Linked DNA regions of Homo sapiens: all the other regions are linked to region 3. Evidence: promoter capture Hi-C in 16 types of primary human blood cells and fetal thymus (Javierre and others, 2016). All regions are on one chromosome and are shown on one strand. The core of a region is centred on a gene start or on the middle of the fragment in contact, and the rest is flanking DNA. Distances in the headings are between cores, read along the strand shown. Region 1 overlaps CPOX (coproporphyrinogen oxidase). Region 2 has its middle 11 kb from the start of GPR15. Region 3 holds the start of ARL6 (ARF like GTPase 6). Region 4 has its middle 27 kb from the start of OR5K4. Region 5 has its middle 27 kb from the start of GPR15.

Evidence for each region. Contacts are between HindIII fragments. The CHiCAGO score rates a contact against its expected background, and 5 or more counts as called.
Region 1: a fragment that was not itself captured here is called in contact with the fragment with the promoter of ARL6 in region 3 in 7 of 17 cell types (activated CD4 T cells, total CD4 T cells, non-activated CD4 T cells and 4 more); the score reaches 11.2 in activated CD4 T cells.
Region 2: a fragment that was not itself captured here is called in contact with the fragment with the promoter of ARL6 in region 3 in 1 of 17 cell types (total CD4 T cells); the score reaches 5.0 in total CD4 T cells.
Region 4: a fragment that was not itself captured here is called in contact with the fragment with the promoter of ARL6 in region 3 in 4 of 17 cell types (non-activated CD4 T cells, naive CD4 T cells, total CD4 T cells and 1 more); the score reaches 8.0 in non-activated CD4 T cells.
Region 5: a contact is called between a fragment that was not itself captured here and the fragment with the promoter of ARL6 in region 3, in 5 of 17 cell types (total CD4 T cells, activated CD4 T cells, total CD8 T cells and 2 more). The highest score is 7.8, in total CD4 T cells.

The regions. Positions count from the first base shown.
Region 1 is chr3:98,575,521-98,580,108 of GRCh38, forward strand. It overlaps CPOX (coproporphyrinogen oxidase), which reads right to left. Exons shown (of 7, transcript NM_000097.7): 7 at 3,926-4,588. Among named protein-coding and RNA genes, the nearest start is that of CPOX, 16 kb to the right of the region's middle. The HindIII fragment of the contact is 1,823 bases long and covers 1,308-3,130 here.
Region 2 is chr3:98,540,389-98,545,217 of GRCh38, forward strand. No RefSeq gene overlaps it. Among named protein-coding and RNA genes, the nearest start is that of GPR15, 11 kb to the left of the region's middle. The HindIII fragment of the contact is 1,555 bases long and covers 663-2,217 here.
Region 3 is chr3:97,761,615-97,766,320 of GRCh38, forward strand. It overlaps ARL6 (ARF like GTPase 6), which reads left to right and starts at 3,144. Exons shown (of 8, transcript NM_001278293.3): 1 at 3,144-3,363. RefSeq lists enhancers at 2,475-2,976, 2,612-3,151, 2,977-3,476, 3,192-3,301. The HindIII fragment of the contact is 6,880 bases long and covers 512-4,706 here.
Region 4 is chr3:98,325,022-98,329,607 of GRCh38, forward strand. No RefSeq gene overlaps it. Among named protein-coding and RNA genes, the nearest start is that of OR5K4, 27 kb to the right of the region's middle. RefSeq lists enhancers at 1-803, 1,413-2,011, 3,440-4,177, 4,178-4,586, 4,466-4,545 and a silencer at 2,019-2,078. The HindIII fragment of the contact is 5,045 bases long and covers 24-4,586 here.
Region 5 is chr3:98,556,055-98,560,951 of GRCh38, forward strand. No RefSeq gene overlaps it. Among named protein-coding and RNA genes, the nearest start is that of GPR15, 27 kb to the left of the region's middle. RefSeq lists enhancers at 1-928, 1-299, 430-509. The HindIII fragment of the contact is 478 bases long and covers 2,333-2,810 here.

The DNA of each region.
Region 1 (4,588 bases), core at 969-3,468, 810 kb after region 3:
CGTGGCTCATGCCTGTAATCCCAGCACTTTGGGAGGCCGAGGCAGGTGGATTACCTGAGGCAGGATTTCAAGACCAGCCTGGCCAACATAGTGAAACCTTGTCTCTACTAAAAAAATACAAAAAATTAGCCGGGTGTGCTGGCTCATGCCTGTAATCCCAGCACTTTGGGAGGCTGAGGTGGGTGGATCACCTGAGGTCAGGATTTCAAGACCAGCCTGGCCAACATGGTGAAACCTTGTCTCTACTAAAAAAATACAAAAAATTAGCCGGGTGTGCTGGCTCATGCCTGTAATCCCAGCACTTTGGGAGGCCGAGGCAGGTGGACCACCTGAGGTCAGGATTTCAAGACCAGCCTGGCCAACATGGTGAAACCTTGTCTCTACTAAATAAATACAAAAAAATTAGCCGGGCGTGCTGGCACATGCCTGTAATCCCAGCTACTCGGGAGGCTGAGGCAAGAGAATGGCTTGAACCCAGGAGGCAGAGGTTGTGGTGAGCCAGGATCGCACCATTGCACTCCAGCCTGGGCAACAAGAGTGAAACTCTGCCTCAAAAAAAAAAAAAAAAAAAAAAAAAGCAACTTGTAGAAACAGGTCTGTGAGTGCATTATTCTGTTTTCATACTGCTATAAAGAACTGCCCGAGACTGAATAATTTATAAAGGAAAGAGGTTTAATTGACTCATAGTTCAGCATGGCTGGGAGGCCTCAGGAAACTTACAATCATGGCAGAAGGCAAAAGGGAAGCAAGGCACCTTCTTCACAAGGCAGCAGGAAGGAGAAGTGCTGAGCAAAGAAGGGAAGAGCACCTTATAAAATTATCAGATCCTGTGAGAACTCACTCACTACCACGAGAACAGCACGGGGATGGTTTACCCTCATGACTCAATTACCTCCACCTGGTCTCTCCCTTGACACCTGGGGATTTGGGGGATTACAATTCCAGGTGAGATTTGGGTGGGGACACAAACCCTAACCATATCAGTGAGGTTTTATGTTGTACAACTTATGACTTGATTTCAGGTAACAATACAAGGGAATTTAGTCAAGCCATTTACAAATGTCTAAGCGTCACTAACTTAAATGTGCTAATTTAGGTTTATTATGAAATTGGATTGTTATGTGTTTCTTTGGGAAGAAAGATGAAATTTTAAAATGTGAGATTTCAAATACATAATTCATACTTGTGGCAGGGATAATACAATACATCCTTGAAAACAATTTCTAAATGGGCTTTTAGAGATACTGGGAACTTCTGTTTTCACAGACTAGGAATAAGACAGTTATACAGACAACTAAACAACACTAAGCTTGATACTACGATATATTGCAAAACAGTGTTGGAAAACAAAGGTTAACACATCATTCATTAGGTAGCAGGTACTATAAATAAGGAAAGATCCACCTTCAATATTTTGTAATAAGTGGGATGTGGATTGAATGACTGTAAATGGAATATGTTGACAGCAATACTAAAAGTAAAATGTGTTGAAAGGGTAGAAGAGATTGACTCCAAGGAAGGTTTCTTGAAGAAGATTTAAAATGGGCATGGAAGGATGAGCGGGCACATAAGACATTCCAAGCAGAGATAGCAGCAGCCTGAGAAAAGGCCAGAGGGGATATAATTTGGGGGAAGTTCAGGAAAAGTGGTGAGTGGTGAGTATATGGTCTGAGACTGAAGTGCACAGAGAAATGTAGAAGATAAGCCTGAAACACGAGGTAGGAGTTAAATGGTGGATTGCTTGAATGTCAGACTGACTTTAGAATTCTGTCTGGAGAGGAGATTCTTTGACTATTTCAGCAGGGTGGTGATAATGGGACCTAGGAAAATAATTCTGAAGAGAGGGAAAGGTCAGAGTGCCCAGAGGCAGGGAGAGCATTGCAAAAGTTCAGATGAGAAAGTATGTGAGACTAAAGTAGGGTGGTGGCAAAGGGCAGAGGAAGGAAACCAGGAGCCATTTCAAAGGGGGACTCAACAGGAACTAATTAGGGCAATGTGGAGGGTTGAGTCCAATCTATTTCGTGGTTTTGAGTGTGGAAGGCTGTGTGGAGGTTTTGAAGATGACTGGGATCTAATTCCCTACCACTCGAATCTGGAACTGTCCTTAATGACAGACTTGTCAGGAGTCCAGTGGAATGTGAAGAAAGTGACACTACATAACCTCAGTGGTTAGAACAGAAAACCACCATACTGCCTTTGCCTTTTTCCATGGAATTCGTGCTCTGAGCCACCCATAGGCAATGCAGCCTGCAGTCCAAGATGAGCTGAGCCTTTGAGTCATCCTCACCTATGTACAGACATGCAAGTCAAAAACCTGCAGAAGATTCCTGTCTCTAAATATTGTAACAGCAAAAGACACATGGAAGGATAAGTCATAAAGAAACATTTGGCTTTTCAAATCTTGTACTCCTTAGCGTGCAGAAGCACTTATCTCAAATACTCTGCTGACTAGGAGGGTCAGCAGAGTACAGTGATGAACAGAAAATAGTGGTTAAAAATTTGCTCCAGAGAATTGACATTTCTCCCCTCCAGACACCCTTTATTACCATGAACCTGCATGCATAAGACAGTTAGGTGTTCAGGCCATCTGGAGGTGCACTGTGGTCTTCAGGTAGACTGAATTAACACCAGTAAGAAATTGAAAGAGAAATTCACTTTGAATAACAGTAGGATAATCTGTTTTCCAGTAGTTATGCAATTCTTTTCAGACATAGTCTAATCCATAGTAGAAATACGTGGTTATTGAAGAACTGAAAACAAATGCACAGAAAAATTTTATCTTCATTTACCCGCCACAGCTTTAAACACAACTAAATAGGCTAGCATTTTAGCATTATATCATCACTATGTAGTGATTTTCTATTTTTTAAAAGCTAAACTGAGGTTGATCTGAACATTTGTTCCTATATGCCTATATTTTTCCTAGTATTAGATTTATTGAAGTATTATTCACATATACAATAAAATTCCATTTTAAGTTCAGTGAATTTTGATAAATGTATATACAGTCTAGTAACCATCACAATCAAGATGTAAAACATTTAAATCACCTCAAAATACTCTTTTGTCCCCTTTCACAAATCTGCATCCCCTAACCCCTGCCATCCATTGATCTGCTTTCTGTCATTAAAGCTTTGCTTTTTCTAGGTTTTCCTATAATGTAGTCATATAGTAAGTACTTTTATGTGTGGCTTTCACTTGGCATAATGTTTCTGATGTTCACCCATGTTACTGTCATTAGCAATAGTTATTCCTTTTCATTGCTTAGTATTTTAATATACGCATATATCACAAGTTGTTTATCTGCTCACCTGCTGTTAGCCATTTGGGTTGTTTCTAATTTTCAACTATTGAATAAAGCTGCTATGAAAATTGAGTACAAAACTTGTATTTTTCTTGAGTAAAATACCTAGGAATGAGGAACTATGGCATTAGCATAGCTGAGCCTTGAACAACACAGGTTTGAAGAGTTTTGCTTCTTCGCAGATTTTCTTCCACCTCTGCCACCCTTGAGAGAGCAAGACCTACTCTTCCTCTTACTACTCCCACTAAGCCTACCCAACATGAAAACAATGAGGATGAAGACCTTTACGATGATTCACTTCCACCTAATGAATAGCAAATATATCTTCTTTCTTACGATTTCCTTAATAACATTTTCATTTCTTTAGCTTGTAAGAAGAGTATATAATACATATAACATAAAACATGTGCGAATTGACTATGTTATTGGTCAGGCTACCAGTCAACAGGAGGCTATTAGTGATTAAGTTTTGGGAGAGTCAAAAGTTATACAAGGATTTGAAACTGCATGCAGTAAGGAGGAGTTGGGGCCCCTAGCCCTAATGTTGTTCAAGGATCAACTGTACTAAGAAATATATGCGTTTTCCTATATTATCCTGGCAACAAAAAATATAAATATTTCTTAGTCTTATTTAATAATAAAATTTATTAGCAGATCTCTTGTAAGACAGTTGAAGAATTCATACATTTTCCAGCCCCAAAAAGGCCACACAGAATCACAAACATTCAACGTGTTCCACGATAATGATATGTATGAGATGCTCTTCCTTATAAACTTTATTACGAAGCAAATAAAATAATACATTCATAATATATGAACAAAGAAATCATACATTAAGAATCCTGTTGTGATTTGCTCTTAAGAGCAAAGAGCTGCAGAATCTCTAATATAAAAAAGAGGACATTTTCAATGTGTCCATTTTCCTAAGAAACGTGTGTATGAAATGCCTCCAAGTTTCTCATACTATATATACTTGCTTTAAAGAAGGAAATTATTTCTCATTTCATTTTCCAAATGAGAAACATTGCCTAAATTCATGACATCCCTAGGATTATTCTTAGTCTCAACTTCCACACAGAGATGTCTGAAATAGAAAACTCTTAAGTATCAGAATTCAGGGATATAAGCTTTCACATTCAAAAGTGCAGAGAATCCCAACATTAACAAACAATGGTTCCACAAAAATCAAAATTACAACTTAGACATCTCTAAAATAATAGTAATGTCACTTTAGAGTTTACAAACTACAGAAATAACTGAATTGTAACACATGCAGAGATTATT
Region 2 (4,829 bases), core at 190-2,689, 780 kb after region 3:
TTAAGACTTTAAACGTATAGACTCATTATTTTAAACACAAGAACACATCTTGAACAGTATTAGGTTTAAATTTATTTCCAAATGACAAACTAAAAAAAAGTATGCAAAGCAAAGTAGATAACTTTACATGAACCTTGCCCAGCACAGTGATTTAATGAGATGCCCTTTCATTTGGCCTTGAGTTAGAGCAAAAGCAAAACTGACAACTCAGGTGGAGAAGTGGTAAATGAGAAACGAAACTTGGCCTGTGGTTTCATGTTTAAAGCAAAAATACAGATTCAGAGCACTTGAAGATAGATGAGAATGGCTACCTTATTTCTAATAAAAAAGATGTTTATGCAATTCAGACCTGACTTGTGTATGTTAATAGAAATAGCTTAAAAATCGGAAAATCAGTAAAGAATTGAGTAAAAGTCAATTCAGAACTGTATAACTTAGTCCTCAGGATTTCAAATCAATGTGTCTTTCCTATAATAATTCAAACATAGAAAAGAATACTGCCAAAAAGTTTGTAAATTTATATTTAGCATGATACATAATATTAAAAAAAACAAAATATGGTTTTACCTATTAAACTGACAAAGAGTGAAACATTAAATACTAAGGTTGACCAGGATTGGGTCTGCGGGTGTGAGGGAAGCTTATTGAGTGTAAATTGATTAAGCTTTGTAGAAAAAATTTAGAAACCTATATCAAAAGCAATTCCACTTCCAAGATTTTGCCCTAAAAAATCATTACGGCCAGGTGAAAAGACATATGCACATGTATTTTTATTGCAGCATTGTTCATAAAAGCAGGAAAGTGAAAACAATCCAAATGTCCAAATTGACTGAGTAAATTAAAATTCATGCACTTTCTTACAATGGAATACTATGCAGCCTTTAAAAATACTGTACCATATACTGAAGTGGAAAGACCTTAATAATAAATCCAATGAAATTAAGTGAAAAAAGCAGACTACAAAACTATATCTATAGGATGACCACATTATTTGTGACTATTTTATTCATATATGAATGCAAAAATACTGGAACCCTATACAGCAAAATGTTAACTTTGTGAAGTTACAAGTGATTTTTATATTTATTATTACTTGTATTTTCCAAAAAAAAATGCATTAATTTTGTAGTAATAAAAAAAGCTAAAATTTAGTTTAGGCTTTCAATGAAGTACCCAAGATAAAAATAGTAGCTAAATTTATTATAAAACATCATTTCTGAGTTGTAGGTCCTCTAGTTTTTCAATTACTGTGTTTCTGATCTGTGAGTATAATCCCTACATTGGCCTTGAGACCTCCCCTAGTAATCATCTGTTTCTTTCTAGGATGACCCGCTGTTTCCTTTACAAGTACCCAATTCCTTAAAAGCAACAGTTTTAGAACTGCTATGCATTTAAAATTTGAAAATGGTGATGAACATTTCAGCATGCAGGCAGGACCTTTATTCTCCCATAATGTCTCTTAGCACAGCAACTATTGCATCCTGCATAGTGACTCATCTGGTGCCATGTCTGTCCACCAGGTAGGAAGAGAGCTCCCTCCACCCTGGGGATGGGGGAAGAGAAGAAGCCACATCTTCATTTTTTGTAGCCATATGCTTGGCTTCTTCCATATCAAGCACTCATCATTGTTGAACTAAACTGAACATGCTAGAAAAATCTCACCATTGATTAAAATAAAAATGAAAAACATTTAAAATGTTAAATATTAAATTTTTATATTCATACTTTTGCTTGAATGTCTTTTGTTTATGATATGCTGTAACTATGAGGGACAGGGAGTCTATTACAGTCATCAGGAGCAATCTTGCCACTGTCCTTTAACTTTTTTGATCATTCCAGCTGTACTTGAGTAGAGAAATAACTGATGCAATATCCTTTACTTCAGCCCTTTCTTGGTGTAACATTGATTTTCTATTTAAATGGAAAACTTTTCTGAATTCAGGTCCAATATGCCTAGTATTGGACCAAAAATAGTGATTTCTAATCACTGTGTGATAGTCAGGAGTTCCACCGGCTATTGCCAGGGTATTATAAATCTTTCCACAAACTCCAAACCTATATTCCACATTAGATAATAAGTAACTTATGTGACTATGCACTTTTGAGAGAGACTGAGAGTGGGATTATGAAGTCAAACAATTGATCAGAAGATAACTTCTATAAAGGCTGTTGCTCTGTTTTGGCTCAGCCCCACTGCTCCAGAAGGTACACGCCATAAGCTTTGGCAATGCCCGTGTGGTATTTAGTCTGTAAGCATGAAGAATGCAAGAGCTGTGAGGCATGACTGCCTCCATTTAGGTTTCAAAGTGTAATGCCTGGTGGAGCTGTGGAAGTGTAGTGACCCCCAAGATTACAGAACTATAGGATACCAGTGTGAAACTCCAGCTTGGGACAGCTAAAGCATGGACTGAGCCCAGCAAAGTCATAGGGACAGGGCTGTCAGAGGCCTTGGGAGCCCAACTCCCACCTCAGTGTGCCCCGGATGCAGGACATGGAGCCAAAGGAGACTATTCTCTAAATTTAAGACTTAATGTTGCTTTCCCTGAAGGGTTTTGGACTTGCTTGGGACCAGTTACCCCTTCTTTCCTGCTTCTCTCTTTTGGAATGGAAATGTCTATTCTATGCCTATCTCACCATTGTGTCGGATCTCACCATTGTATCGTGGAAGTAGATTACTTGTTTTCATTTCACAGGCTCACAGCTGGAGAGTATTAGCCTCAAGATAAATTGTAGGTTGAGTGTCTGATTTAGATGAGACTTTTGAGTTGATGCCAGAATGAGTTAAGACTTTGAGGGCTATCAAGATGGAATGAATGTATTTTGCACATAAGAATAAGATGAATTTTGGGGCAACAGGGATGAAGTGCTGTGGTTTAAGTGTCCCTGCCAAAACTCATGTTGAAATTTAATTGCCACTGTGACAGTGTTGAGAGGTGGGACCTTTAGGAGGTGATTGGGTCGGGGCTCCACCCTATGAATGAATTAAGGCCATTATTATGGGAATAGGTTAGTTATCATGGGACTTTGGCTGTCTGTTTCCCTTTCTTTTGCCCTTCCACCTTCTGCTCTTCAGTCATGGGATGACCCTCAGCAGATACCAGCACCATGCTCTTGGATTTCCCAGCTTCCAGAACCATGAGCCAAACAAACTTCTTTGGTTTATAAATTACCTAATCTGTGATATTCTGTTATAGCAGCAGAAAATGAAATAAGACAGATGTCAAAATGCTATTCTGACTAATTTTCCATTGCTGGCACTTCCTAAAAAGAACAGAGTTATCTCAACTATCATGATATAAAATGTTTAAATCATCAATTTATAATTTTTGTTATGACTTAACTGTTACCATTGGGAGGGTAAGATAGCATTGTGGTTAAAGAACACTGACAGAACTGAATTTGCCATTTATTAGCTATGGAAGATGAGCAAGTTTCATAACTTTCCTGAGCCTGATTTCTCTCTATAAAATAGGAACAATTATACTTGCTTTAGAAAACAGTAGTACCTCTAATTAATTAAGATGAAAATGTAAGGAATTCAGAAAATTACCTGGTACATACTAAGAGTTTAATAAATGATAGTTGAGGAAACATTCCCATTTTATAGATGAAGAAAATAGCCCTCAGAGGAATCGTTTCACATAATTATTAATGTAATGAACCAGAAATGAAACCCCAATTTCAGTTAAGCTCAGACCTACGTAATCGCAAAGCTCATGGCCTTTCCACTTCACTGTATTCTTTCCTGATTCCCAGATTTTCTCTTTCTCTCTCTCCCCACTACCTTTGCCTAATTGCAATAATTTTCACTCAAATTATTTTTCTTATTTTTTCCAAAGCAAATATCTCAAATAAACAAATCCTTTGCCTATTCACAATTAATACTAAAAAAAGATGTTTCTTGAGGGAAGAGGAAGTCCATTTTATTAAAAATATAACTTTTTCTAAAAACTGTAACATGTTTTCTTTTCTGTTATATAATCTCTTAATTGTGATCTATCACAAATGGCATTTTCTATCCTACTGATGGCCACTTGAAGCCTGTAATTGATTCAAAAGTATGTTGCACATAGGAAATGGACAGTTATCTATTTTGCTCAATGTAACACCCAAGTCCACACTAAAGCACAAATGCTATGACACCTATGACAGTGTCCTTCACCAGAAAATGTTTTTTAGAAAGAGTAGATATGGCTTGAACCTGGGAGGCGAAGGCTGCAGTTAGCCAAGATTGTGTCACTGCACTCCAGCCTGGGCAGCAGAGCAACAGCCCGTCTCAAAAAAATTAAAACCAAAAAAATGGTAGATATGTACTAAATTCTATTATCTCATTTTCTCTATCCCTTAAAATTTTTCTGGTCACAGATTTCTTATATATCTATGGCGACAAAGAAAGAAAAGTAAATGTAATCCCAAATCTCACGCTCTAGATTTTGTGCCTGTGACATATGGAACCTAAACTGACATTAGGAATTTAAACTTTTACCATCTTCTTTATTAAATGTTACTTGTTAAGACAATGAGTTGCCTTGGGCCACGTGCAGAAGAAATTTGGTAGACAATGCCCTTGTCTTTCGGGAACTTCATTTACACTTTTGGAAGGCACATTTGTGTTAATAATTTCCTCGTTTTAATAGCAACTCCCAATTGTAGTTTTAAGAGATAAGGGTTTCTCTATGTAGTATATTATAAACTGCCCCAAACATAGAAACTTGATTTAAAGTTTCTTTAAGTAAGAAACAACATTTTCTGTGTATCACTTTTAAGAGAAGTTAAGGATGTTATGAGGTAAAATAATGAGTTAATAATCATTGACCCACAACCAAAGA
Region 3 (4,706 bases), core at 1,894-4,393:
ATAATTTAGTAATTCTGGATGCAAAATCATAGTTGTAAATTTTTTAAATAATGTCATTAGGTTTAGACATAAATTCACAGAAATCACTATAAAAAACTAGTAAATATTTTTGTAGCGATTTTATATTGGAAAATATTTTGTGAGATTCAAGTAAATTAAAGTGTTCATTGCAGAGGCAGTACTGCACAGAAATTGCAGATGAAAAAAGGGTACACATAACATCAACTGTTGAAACACAGCTTTAGACCAAAGTTTACACCAAAAAGTTGCAGTAAGTTATAAATCAGGGATTATCTATATTCTTTTAAAAGTTGCTGGTGAGAAAATAACGCTAAAGTATCCTGAATTAATCAGAACAGTGCTGTGTTCATTATATCTGACTCTTTTCTTTTTTATAATTTTCTTACTACAGTTCTAAAAGCCAGTATGAAATTAAAACTGGTGAGAAGGTACCTAAAATTATCTTCTGTTATGGTTAAGTGGCTTTAAGAAAATCACGTAGCATTTTTAAAGCTTGTTATTGTCATAATAAAAAAGAGTCAAACTAACTTCTTAAATCAAGCGAAACAATTGTATCTCAGCCTCTGAATGTACTCGTGAGAGGAGTTTCAGTTGACAAAGCACCAAAACAGCAGAATCAACCATATGAAATATTTATATGTATTTATTTTTAATAGAGATGGGGTCTCCAACTTCTGGCCTCCGGAGATCCTCCTGCCTTACTTAGCCTCCCAAAGTGGTGGGATTACAGTGTGAGCCAGTGTGCCCAGCCTTTATGTTTTTTGTTTTGTTTTGTTTTTGAGTGCAGGGTCTCACCCTTTTGCCCAGGCCAGAGTGCAATGGCACAATCTCAGCTCACCGCAACCTCTGCCTCCCCGGTTCAAGCGATTCTCCTGCCTCAGCCGCTTGAGTAGCTGGGATTCCAGGAACGTGCCACCACACCCGGCTAATTTTTGTATCTTTAGTGGAGATGGGGTTTCACCATGTTGGCCAGGCTGGTCTTGAATTCCTGACCTGGTGATCCACCTGCTTCAGCCTCCCAAAGTGCTGGGATTACAGGCGTGAGACACCGGGCCTGGCAGCCTTTATGTTTTTTTAAGTTTAATATTTTCAAGGCTAACATTTTTTTCTAGATTATTTTACTGCTTTATTTCATAACATTTATCTCTAGTAATAAGCCATCTATCAACTATACTTATCTAAGATAACGATTTGACTAGCTACATTTTTGTAGAAGAATTATCTATCTGCCTTGTTTTCCTGAAAAGTTGGATGCTCAATATGTCCATTTTATTTCCAGTTTTCACCAAATGTTTTATATTAAGCCAAAAGAGATGAACTCAACCTAGAGGCAGAAAATATCAACTTTTAGCAGGAAAAATTGAGTCTGTCCATGAAAGTTTTCTGAAATATAACATTTCTGCCGATCGCTAAGAAAAAAAAATGTTATATTTTGGCCGCAAGCACATTAGCTTCCATCTCTTACAAGTAAGTCACAACACCCAGGCACACAGAAAAGTGTTCAACACCTCCCTGTCAATGCATTCACGATTAGAAGTTCAGAAGTTAAAGAACCACCATAGTTACGGTTTGGGTCAATTTTGTTTACACAATAAAAAGCTCAAGACAAAAGAAGACAGGACATTATTTATTGAACAATAAATATGTGCCAAACATCTGTATTTCTGTTATCTTTAATACTCAGAACTACCAGATAAGATAAATACTATATTTTTGAAGGTGAGGATAGAAGCACGGAGAAGGGTAAATTGGGCTAAGACCACACAGTAAGAAAGAATGTATTTCCATACTCCATTTTTACAAGGACATTTATATGTTGATATGCATCCATAGGGTCTTTGTTTTGTTTTTGTCTTTCAACAAGAATCACTAATCCAGAGCCGCTTTTGTTTTTTCGCTGTAAAAATGACAATTACATTTGGAAATTTGGAGAAGTGACAAAAGATAAATCACCCCATAATCACACGCTTACAACCGTCCCCCCTACCATATTACTTTGAAATAATTCCTTCTAGTCTCTTTTTGCACCCTCCTAGTCCATTTAATAGGCCAAATGAATTGACAGGCCAAAGAACAGGCAGTGCAGTAAACATACACTAGCTAGTTGAAAAGGGTCGCGCGGTGGGGGGCAGGGGGTCGGAAATCCTACACCCATGCAAACAAAAAAAATGAAGAGATACAAACCCCTATTTGAAGAATGAGGCCATTCGCTGGGGGTGAGGTTAGTGGAGTTGGGCAGATTGAAAGGCTAGATCTTTAAAATGACTGCATCTGTAATGTGTCCGTTGGAAAACGCAGTAATAAAAGATGTGGGGAAGGGTATGCCTAAATATTTTCTATTTGAAGACCATTTGTGACTATGACTATAAAATCCAAGTGCAATTTAAGAAGGTGGTCAACTTTAAGTATTGACTATTAATACCTTTCCTGACCACCTGCCGATTTGATTCTGGAGACTGTAATCTACTCACAGGAGATTATGCCTGGTAGAAATCTCTTCGGGAGACCACACAACTAAGAAGCAGGGGTACAGGCATACTTTATTAGCCGAATAACACCTTTTGACTTTTTACACCAGTTCTCCCCTCTACCTTCCTGTATTAACAGTTTTACCTCTACAGGGACTCAGGGTGGGAGGCCTATCAGAACCCAGAGAAGAGTCGGTGCGATGGGCAACTGGGGAACTCCGGCGCACATCTTGCCCCAGGGGGGACAGTATCGTCTTGCAGTCGTTGCCACAACGCTACGCTGGTGCCCGGTAACGACACTCTCCGCGCCACACCCAGCGCCAGCCTCTTGGATCCCCAGGAAGACCAGGGCCGAGCGACAAACACGCAGCACACGCGAACGCCAAACGCTTCCCAGAAAGCTGTGCGCGAGCCTACAACTCCCATGATGCTACGCCGGGAACTGCCCGGCTCCTCGCAGGAAATAGGCAGCTCACCCTGCCACCTGTGCACACATTTTTCTTCAATGTATAGTTCCTCGGCGCGCCTCTGACCTTTTCCCGGAGCTCTTCAATCCCAGAAGCTATAGCACAACGGCTGAATCGCCAGGACCCCCGGGGAGGCGTGGCTTCAGGACCGGAAGAAGCTCCTGTTGCCAAGGGAACGGTGCCTGCCAAGGCGCCTGCTCAGCGACTGATGCACAGACTGCTGCAGAGGCTGCCGGTTTTCCCAACTTCTAGAGACGGCTTTGCTCATTACCAGGCATCCTTCCCATGTAGGCATCGAGAAGAAGGCTGAGGGACCCTCGCACCAGATTTCCATCCCGGAGACCGATACGAGTGCGTCCATTCCTGTTGCCAGCTCCTGCGCCCTCCGGACTAACCTCAAAAACCAGGTATCTCCTCAACGCCGGTTTTTAAAGCCAGCGCCACCCTCTGTCCCCGTCAGTTTTAGAATTCCTCTTTGGTCTTTCCCATGTTTTTCACTCCACGCGTGTAGTTGTTGCTAATGTATGAGAAGTAGAAAAGAAGGTGAGTTATAGAGGCCCTAGAAAACTTACTAAACTGGTTTGGACGTATGTTTGGTTGATGGGTTTTAACAATGCTCAACTTAGACCCGTGTATTGGGGGTGTGTGTGTGTGTGTGTGTGTGTGTGTGTGTGTGTGTGTAAGTGTAATTTAAATTATATCATAAAAAACTGAAAGCCGAATAAGAATGTTTATTTGGGGTAATAAAAGTAGGCAACATTTCAATCAACAAACACTTTACAGAGTTTACTAAGTATCATTCGTGGTGTTTTCTCTGGGCTACCACTCTGTCTCTGCAGCTTACCCTCTAAGCTGTTAACTGTGGATAACATCCTAATTCTTCTGGACTTCTCTGGCAATATGTAATCCTTTAGGAAACAGTCTGTCAGACAATAACCAAGAGAATTTGGCTGGTGTGCAAAGAGAGGGTTACAGTAAGATAAGAAACAAGAAAGGAAGATTGGAGCCAGATTGTGGACAACCTTAAAAGCTGTGCTTGGAAGTTTGAAACTACTGGCTTTATTCTGAAAGCCAGTAGTTCTCAATAGTAACTTCACATCAGAAACACTGGGTAGCTTTTAAAACTACAGATGCCCTGATCTTATTTTCAAAAATTCGGATTCAGCAATTGATTTCAGAGTGCAGCCAGGGTTGAGAATCATGGCTATCAGAGTAGGAAGCTGCAGAAAACAGTTGTGTCTCTCGCTGCACACTTAAGACACGATTAACAAATATTGACTGGCTTCAATTATCTTTTATTTATGCATGCAGAAAGTCAACTTATGGAAGGAAAATTATAACTACTTGAAACGTAGAAGTTTAAAGGCTCTATGATAGTTGTTTATAAAGCAATTTCAATAAATGTGATTACCTCTTTTAGAAAAACTGCCTGCTCTTCTAAATTGTGTGTCCCAAAATATTTCATTAACAAGTATCAAGTGATAATCCATGGAAAAGTGATGGAAAGTCACAATACAAGGTACTGTGAAAAACGAATATTCAAGCATCAGGCTTTAAACACTCAGTGCTTTATAGTAGATGCTTAAAGGGGGGAAAATGTGAGAAGTTGTCGTTTTTAAAACATAAGTTCTAAATTATGAAATGGAGAACAAGATATAAGCATTTATATCAATATGTTTATGCAGTAAATAAAGTGAGTAATAGCAAATTTACTTTGAAATCAAATGGTATGTGTGAATTGCTTCATGAC
Region 4 (4,586 bases), core at 1,296-3,795, 560 kb after region 3:
CAAACATAGATAAGCAACCTGGAAGCTTGCATAGATAAATGCTGGCGGCTGTGCCGACAGGAATAGGCTACCTGGGAGCCAGGCATGTTCAACATGGAGGCGCCATCTTCCGTTTTCTTTGCTTTTCTTCGTCACCACGTGTGCAGTCAGGGAGTAGGCAACGTGGTGCCAGCCAGGTAGAGAACTTATATACATAGTAAAAGATTAGGGTGGGGCGGCCAGCTTCTTTGCAGGCTATCCAAACAGCACACCTGGCCTGACCAATCTCTCGTGCCCTATGTAAATCAGACGCTGCCTCCTCAAGCTCCTCTACAAAACCCTGTGCACTTAACCATGAAACTGGCAACCCATTTTTCTCCGGGACCCCTTTCTGCGCAGAGAGCTCTTCTCTTTCTTTTGCTTTTAAACTTCTGCTCTTAACTTCACTCTGGTGTGTCCGCGTCCTTGTTTTCCTTGGCATGAGGCAACGAACCTCAGATATTACCCCAGACAAACAATGCCGCTTCATTAGGATAAATATTTATCTTAAAGCCTTTGAGCCTTTCCATTTTTTTCCACTTCAGTCTTTCTCTGGTATTTCCCCTCTGCTTCTCTGGCTTGTCTTTCCTGCACTTTTCCATTTACGACCCCATAATTCTCTGCTTATTTCTCTGTTCTCCATCTTGTTTTCTTTTCACCTACCCAAATTCTCTTTCCACTTCTCTGTCCCCTTTCTCCTTTAAATGTATTCCTCTCCTCTCTTCCTTTGAAAACTTTTATTAAATTGTTCTATGGGAAATTCTTTTTTACATTTGTCTATGGGCAGTAAAAACATGCCAACCATTCTTCACATTTCATGGAGCTTTCTGTAGCATTTTCCATTGTTTCCCATTTATTTTGAATTACTCTCTGACCTTAACTCTGACGCAAGTGCTCTACTAACATCACTAAAAATCTTTTAATTTTCACACTCAAAGATCTCTTCTCACTCCTTGTCTTGCTGTAGCATTTTTTTTTGGCATTTAGCCCTGTACTATATTTTGTCTTTCTTTAGTATCCTTCCCTCTTTATGTCTACAACTCTCAGCTTTCCAGTTTCCCTCCTGCTTCTCTGATCACTTCCTTCAGTATCTTTTTCTGGTCTCTTTGTTGTCTCTCTTTTGTTTGAGCCAGGATTCTCAGTTACAACAGGAAGTAAGTTTATTACATGGAAATCTGTCTAAAATAGAAATGCTAAGGAAGTTGGAGGATCAGCTGGAAAAATAGGCAGAAACAGAAGGAAGCAAGACAGCCAGTCAACAGCTAAAGCCACGTTCCAACACTAGCTGATGAGGGCTGTTCTTCCTGCTGCTGAACTTGGGTGCCACAGCCTCCACTGCTGATGCCACTGTTGCCAAAGTCAAGGATGCATTAGCTAGAGTCTTGTCATTGCTGCCTTTGCTACCAAATTCTCTTTTGTTCCTGTACCTTTATCTTCCCTCTCCAAATTGCAAAACTATGGAGGGTTGGTTTTTAAACCGTCTTTGCAGAAATTATAACAGTAAGAAAATTATGGCAGTAAAAGAGATCTATCTAACCCACCTCCCATTATGCCTTTCCCTTAATTATTCCTGGGATTTTGGGCTGAACTAACTTTGACAGACATTTAGTTAATAGTTTAAATGATAATAGGCCTTCCCCAAAACTCAACAACCTTTGTAAAGCTAATGAAAGGCCCTCAGGTTGGGGGAGGAGAGGAATCTGAATTCTGCTAAGGTATAGACATAAATGATTGCCAACCATTCCTGCAAATAATACCAGTATTGTAGATTGGCCTTTTGAGATATCTTTTCAGGTTTTTTTGCATGTCTGACACCCATGGCTCCACCTGGACCCACCAACCCATCTCCTGTGGCCCCACTCAGAGTGATTCAATGCACAGAAGGACAGCTTCAAACCCCTACGATTTCATCTCTGACCCAACACATCAGCAGTAAGCACCCATTACCTGGCCACCCCCACTCCTTCCCCCAAACTGCCACTGAAAAACCCCTAACTACAGGCCTTTGGGGAGATTCATCTGGGTACTAACTTTGTCTCCCACATAGTGTAGCTGGCCTGATGTCTATTAAACTCTTCCTTTACTGCAATGCCATCATCTCTGTGAATTGATTTTGTTTGTGCAGCAAGCAGGAAGAAGCCCTCTGGCAGTTACAATTTGACTGGCCAAACTCAGATCAAGTGTTTCACTCTAGGTGCAAGATAAATGTGAAAGTGTGTTTCTACCTCTCTGGTTTCTAGAATGGGTGGTAACTTCTTCCCACCACCAAGACACATGTAGATGAAAAGGGGATGGCTAATAATTCTAATAAATGAGGCATATACATATTATCACCTCTGTAATACAACTTCCTTGAGTTTTTCCTTCCACTTTGTGTACTCTCCAATTGCTAGGTCTTCCATAATGATTCCTTCATCTACTCCAAACCAAGTCATTATTTCTAGTAAGTTCCAGTAAATTCATACTACTAAGTTCATCTGACCTGGATATTCAGATGATTCTCTGTTTGAAATGCTTGTTCCCGTGCCATAAAGAAATAGCACTTGAACATAAATTTAATTTATTTAGTAAGGTCATTTTTACTTCCTGTAGAAACGGTACACTCACCAGCAGTTCTGCCACAAGAGTACACCAAAAAAAGGAGATGCATCCTGACGCATCCACCCTACTGCTGTGTCGGGTTTCCGTGGGCTGGAACAGGACCTCACATTCTGTATTTGTCCCGATTGGCTAGCAACTTAGAACTTTTTAAAAGAGGCAAAGGTAGAGGAGAACAAAGAAAGGAGGAAGTCACTTGTGGAATGTTGAGAAAGGTAAAAACACTTTTAAATAAGGAAGAGGAACAGGCTATGACCTAACGCTTGCTTGGACCAGTATAAGTATGCCAGGGCAAATATTTAGGCTAAATTGTGGAAGCTAAGAACATAAAGTACGTTGATTTCTTTATTATGGCTAGCAGATATTTAAGAATGTTAGCACAGGTCTTTGAATACATTTTGCTTCTAAGAGAAGTTACTATTTATTCCTAATTAGACGGGGAGGAAAGTCTTTGAAGAGGAACCTCTGCTTTACTTTTTACATTCTCCTTCCACAAATTTGCCAATGCATCTGAGCTCTCAATCTGCGTTTTTGATGGCCATCTGCCCAGCCCATATAATTCCATTCTCCTTCATTGGTCACCCCCTACATATCCAAAATGTCATTAAGTCCTTATGACACTACATTTTAAATTCTTTTGAATCTATTGCCTTGTCCTCCTTATCACCCCCAAAGTCATATCACACAAGGACTAAGCACTTTGCATGCATTTGAGTCACCTGGGGAGCATGTTAAAAATGGAGACTTTTAGGCCTCCTTGTTGAACTACTATTTCTACAGTAATACCTTATAATCCATATTTTGCACAAAAAAAGGTACCCAGTTTATTCTGATATATAATCTTGTCTGAGACACATTGGACAATAGTAACTAAGTTTCCTTGTTAGTGTGCCTGATTCCAGTTTCCCTTTCCTGAAGGCTATTTGGCACAGTAAAAGGTATTTAATTTTTAAAAATTTAGGTTTTACCAAGGTGGCCAACTAGATGGAGCTGAAGTGCTACTCCCACAGGAAAAGACAATGATTTCAACTACACCAACATAATTTGAACAGATTATTTGCAGAGAAAATGCCAAATATGGATACAGAAAAGATGCAGTTGCTGAGGCTGAAGAGGGAGGGAGCTGGGAACTCCTCATGGGATGCCTGAATGTTATAACTGGTTCCCAGCCCTGAACAGCACCTGAGGAAGCGGTGCGTGAGAGGACTGGAGGACTGCCCACTCTCACCACAAACCTCTGGGAACCTAATACAGGGGCCCCACACCCCTAGGATGTGTGAGCTGGCAAGGGGGATCTCTCAGAGATTAGATGGAGCAGAGCACAGGTTAGCTCCAGCAGAACCCAGTCATGAAAGCCCACCAGCCAGGGCTGCCTGTCTGCCTCTGAGAAAGTCTAGCCCCAGGTAACCCCTGGGAGAAAGCAGGGCCTGCTTCCCCGTGGGCCTGGGGCACATCTGTTCTGCAGGCTGACTGAGCACCAGACCCTCCCAGAGCCCCTGCCTGGCTGCCTGGAAGGAGCAGTTACACAGTGCAACCTCCACTACCCAGCCTAGATGCTTTGCTCCACCTGAGTGCGTTCCAGCTGGGAGCCATTGCAATCACGCACCACACCTGGAACCCAACCCTGAGCATCCGAAGGAGGGAGCTGAGAACAGGTCCTGGCGCCCCAAGGATGTGGGCTCAGGAGTGCCAAGGTGGAATCTGTGCTTTGCACTTGAAAGGAGGAGGATCCCACACTCTCTCGGAAGACTGAGAGGGCTGAGTTGCACAGATTCGAAGGCTGGTGTGGGACCTAGCTGTGTCTGGCTCCACAGGGCTGGTCTGGTAAGGGTGCAGCCTATCTCCCTACCTGGCCTCTCCCTAAGGGAGCCCCATGGCCTGAAAGACTTAGCAACAACAATGACAACAACAAAAATCTTAGGCAGAGTGCCAGCAATCGGAGGTGACTTCCCAAGGCCCACGAGCAGACC
Region 5 (4,897 bases), core at 1,322-3,821, 790 kb after region 3:
GCCCTCATCTACTATGCAAAACTACATTGTCTTTTCATAAAATTTTGCAGAATCTTACCTTAAAGGGGAAGATCACAGGTTACTACATCACTGCTTTTTTATTCAAACTAAAAATCATACTTCAGTGTTTTTAAAAAGTTAAATGAAATCCAGAACGCCAAATAAAAGGCCAATAGAGAAAAAGAGAAGGAAGCCAGATGCATGCCTGTATTTCTGGAAGGAGAGTTTCTCAAAGGCTTTTTTTTGAAACCTCCTTAGCTAGAGCTAAGGTTTGAGGTTAGCTGAGCATCGCGTGCCATTCTTGAAGGGTCCTAGGCACTGACTCATTTGCTTTATCATTTCTCATGAAAGCAAGAGGTGGCAGCCATCACCAGAGAGCAAAGGGGTGACTTGGTGACTGATCTCATTACTGAACTAAGGAGAGCACTCTCACGCAAAGTTCAGAACCTCCCCACACCCAGAGAAACTCTGCCAGTTCATAGAAAAGAAGTTATTTCCACCCAAGAAGACAAGTGGCAACTGGAAACAGATGTGAAGAAAACAAGAATAAACACCTTTTTCAGAAATATAACAACTGTAACAAATAATCAGTTTTTCCAGTTCCCACCTGTACACCATGCTCTCAACTATATACTGCAAGTTAAAACAGAATTGATCATGGTTCTGTATTTTTAAATTCTCTCGCTTTCTAAATACATCACTTCACTTTTAACAGTCCAAAGAGCTCTTTATAATTTACTTCCTCTAAGGTAAATTTAGGTGCAATTTTAATAGACTGGTAGGGGCAAATGCCTCATTCCCACCCAAAGGGTTGAGGAATGAGTGATGGACACGGTGAGCTAGGAGAAGTAGAAAGTGATCAGTGCCCTGTGGGAAATAATGGGAATGTCACAGGTTTCTTCTTTTCTGGGTCACTGGGGCATGCCTTTTGATTGAGCATAACACAGATTAATGTCATTGCCTGTGGATTTTGGAAGGAAATTGCAACAACTTTGGTTGATCACTTACTGGAGTAGAGACGGGGAGAGACAGATACTTTTCTACTTTACATGCATTTCTATTTCAATCCTTTAAGCAACCAGGAGAGTAAATATTTTTATTCCAATTTTAGGATGAGAAAGTGGACACATGGAGTTAATAGAAAAGGAGAGTAAAAATGATGGAATACAGGCAGACTGGCCCCATTGTCAAACCGTAGTCTGAATGTTTCAAAAGCACATCTGCCTTTTTTGTGACCAATAACCAGCATTTTTGTATAACTACAATTAGTGAAGCATGTCCTCATATATTATCTCAATTTATCCTCATTAAAGCACAGATAGAATGTGCTATTCTTAAGCTTGTTACTCAGGTGAGAAAAACGAGTTTCAGGGAATTCTCAAGATCACTCATCCAGGAAGTGATAGAGCCACCACCAGAACCCAAATCTTGTGCCTTCAAATCAAATCCTCTCCTCTTTCAGTTTTGCCTCTCACCTCTCATCTCCACTCCCATCCTCTTATGATTCATGGGAAGGTTGTGAGCTGCCGTAGACTCTCACACCCACTTGCAAGCTGAACTGGAGCTTTAGCCTGTCAGCTACACAGCTTCCTTGTAGCACTTGAATTTTTCATCAGTTATTTGCACCTTAATATGACAAAGGATATGAGATGAGGTTTTTTTGTGACACATTGTAATAACCCAAAGTTGTTAGTTTACATTAGGGCTCACTCCTGGTGTTGTATATTCTATGGATTGGGACAAATGCGTAATGACATACATCCACCATTACAGTATCATACAGAGTAGTTTCACTGCCCTAAAAATCCTTTGTGTGCCACCTATTAATCCCCCCTACTCCCCACAACCACTCATTTTTTTACTCTGAGATGAGTTTTTAACGGTAGGAAAAAAAAAGAAAATTTGAACAAACAGAAATACAGAAGATGAGGGCATTTAGTACTTAAAATATGTGGGATTATGTGGGTGGGAGAATTGAAGATCTAAGGAGAAACTGCAACTTTGTAAGTGAATTAGAGACACATCTTTCTCTTCCCCACCCATCCTCCCGTCTTGATAAAGACTCAGCTCAGTGGTTTGCAAACATTTTTTTAAATTTAATTTTATTTTATTTTAAGTTCTGGGATACACGTGCAGGATGTGCAGGTTTGTTACACAGGTAAACGTGTGCCACAGTGGTTTGCTGCATCTATCAACCCATCACCTAGGTATTAAGCCCAGCCTACGTTAGTTATTTATCCTGATGCTCTCCCTCCCCCGACTCTGACAGGCCCCAGTGTGTGTTGTTCCCCTCCTTGTGTACATGTGTTCAAAAACCCTACCTTGAAGTCAAAGCTTACATATATATACATCACATATTAGGTAAGAACATAATTGACATAAATTTGTGTTGGAATAAAAGCATAGCTATTTTAATCAGATTTATAGTCCTATATGTACTTCAGCATTCACTTCAGCTGTTTGGAAAAAAAGAACAAAATAAGAAGCTGGATCTCTCTCAACCCTTATGTCAAAATACATTTCTGGTGCAGTGATGTGCTAGAGTTGGCATATATCAGCTGGCAAGAGCCAACTGTGCACATCTTTTCCTAACTCTGTGTTCAGCGAAGTCACATGGGCAGCTTGAAATTGGACATGATGGGAGTATTTACACTTTGGAAATTGGCAAATACTACAATTCAGAGCTTTTTGTTGTTGTTTTGAGAGCCAATTTTGTAGTCATTGCTACTGGTAGGAAAAAACTAGTATCTTATTAACTCAGAAGATAATATGGGAGTTTTCCTTTGAACAATTCCCAGTGTGGTAGGGAAAGCTTTATAAAACCTAAAATCTTTTTCTAAAAGATACATTTTACACAAACACATAGACCAATGGAACAGAATAGAGAACTCAGAAATAAGACTGCACACCTACAACCATCTGATCGTCGACAAACCTGACAAAGACAAGCAATGGGAAAAGGGTCTCTATTTAATAAATGGTGCTGGGAGAACTGGCTAGCCATATGCAGAAAATTGAAACTGGATCCCTTCCTTGTACCTTCTACAAAACTAAAACTCAAGATGGATTAAAGACTCAAATGTAAAACCCAAAACAATAAAAACCTTAGAAGAAAATCTAGGCAATACCATTCAGGACATAAGCACAGGCAAAGATTTCATGATGAAAACACCAAAAGCAATTGCAACAAAAGCAAAAATTGACAAATGGGATCTAATTGAACTAAAGAGCTTCTGCACAGCAAAAGAAATTATCATTAGAGTGAACAGACAACCTACAGAATGGGAGAAAATTTTTGCAATCTATCTGATGGGCAAAGGTCTAATATCCAGAGTCAACAAGGAACTTAAACAAATTTATAAGAAAAAAACAACTCCTTTTAAAGGTGGGCAAAGGACACGAATAGACACTTCTCAAAAGAAGACATTCATGCAGCCAACAAACATATGAATAAAAGCTCAATATCACCTATATTAGAGAAATGCAAATCAAAACCATAATGAGACACAATTTCATGCAAGTCAGAATAGCAATTACTACAACATCAAGAAACAACAGATGCTGGTGAGGTTGCTGAGAAAAGGGAACACTTTTACACTGTCAGTGGGAATGTAAATTATTTCAACCATGTGGAAGACAGTGTGGCAATTCCTCAAACATCTAGAAGCAGAAATACCATTTGACCCAGCAATCCCACTACTGGGTATATACCCAAAGGAAAATAAATCATTCTATTTTAAAGATACATGCATGCATGTGTTTATTGCAGCAGTATTCCCAATAGCAAAGACATGGAATTAACCCAAATGCCCATCAATGATAGACTGGATAAAGAAAATGTGATACATATACACCATGGAATACTACGCAGCCATAAAAAGGAACAAGATCATATCATTTGCAGGGACATGGATGGAGCTGGAAGCTGTTATCCTCAGCAAACTAATGCAGGAACAGAAAACCAGGCACTGCATGTTCTCACTTATAAGTGGGAGCCAAATGATGAGGACACATGGACACACGGTGGGCAACAACACATGTTGGGGTGTGTCATGGGAGCAGGGGGAGGGAGAGCATCAGGAATAATAACTAATAGATGTTGGGCTTAACACTTAGGTGATAGGTTGATCTGTGCAGCAAACCACCATGGCACGCATTTACCTATGTAACAAACCTGTATATCCTGCACATGTACCCCAGAACTTAAAATAAAAATTGATGAAAAAATAAAAGATACATTTTACTACAAAAAGTAAACATTTTCTGCCCTAAAAAGATGTATAAACTATGTTACAATAAAAATTTCAAAATGGGGAAAAACATGCATACTTATAAAAAAGGGCTAATTTTCTTATTATACAAAAAGCTCTAATAGCAAAAAGATCAATTCAATATAAAGCGAGTTAAGATATAAATTGGCAGTTAACAGAAATATAAATATAAATTGTCAATGAATATTTTATAAATGCTCAACCTCCTGCATAACTAAGTCCAAGTTGGAAAAAAAAAAACTTTTTTAAAAGTTATAAAATGGCAAAATTATAGTGTGAGCTTCAATGTTGAGGGTAGGTATGGAGAAGCCCACTCATTCACTGTGGGACACTGTTAAATTAAATTGCATATTATTAAGTGAAATTTAAAATTCACACTCTTTTCAACTATTTTCAATTCTATTCCTAAGAATTTGTTTTACAGACTTTTTATATTCTCACAAAAATAAGTAGACGTGGATGATCATTGTGACATTGTTTGTCTATTAGTTATCTACTCCTGTGCTTAAAAATTACCCCAAAACTTTAAAGTTTAAAGTCATAATAGACATCATTATCTCATAGAGTTTCTGTGTCTCAGTTATTGGAGAGCAATTTAGTTGAGTGGCTGTTTCATGGGGTTGTAG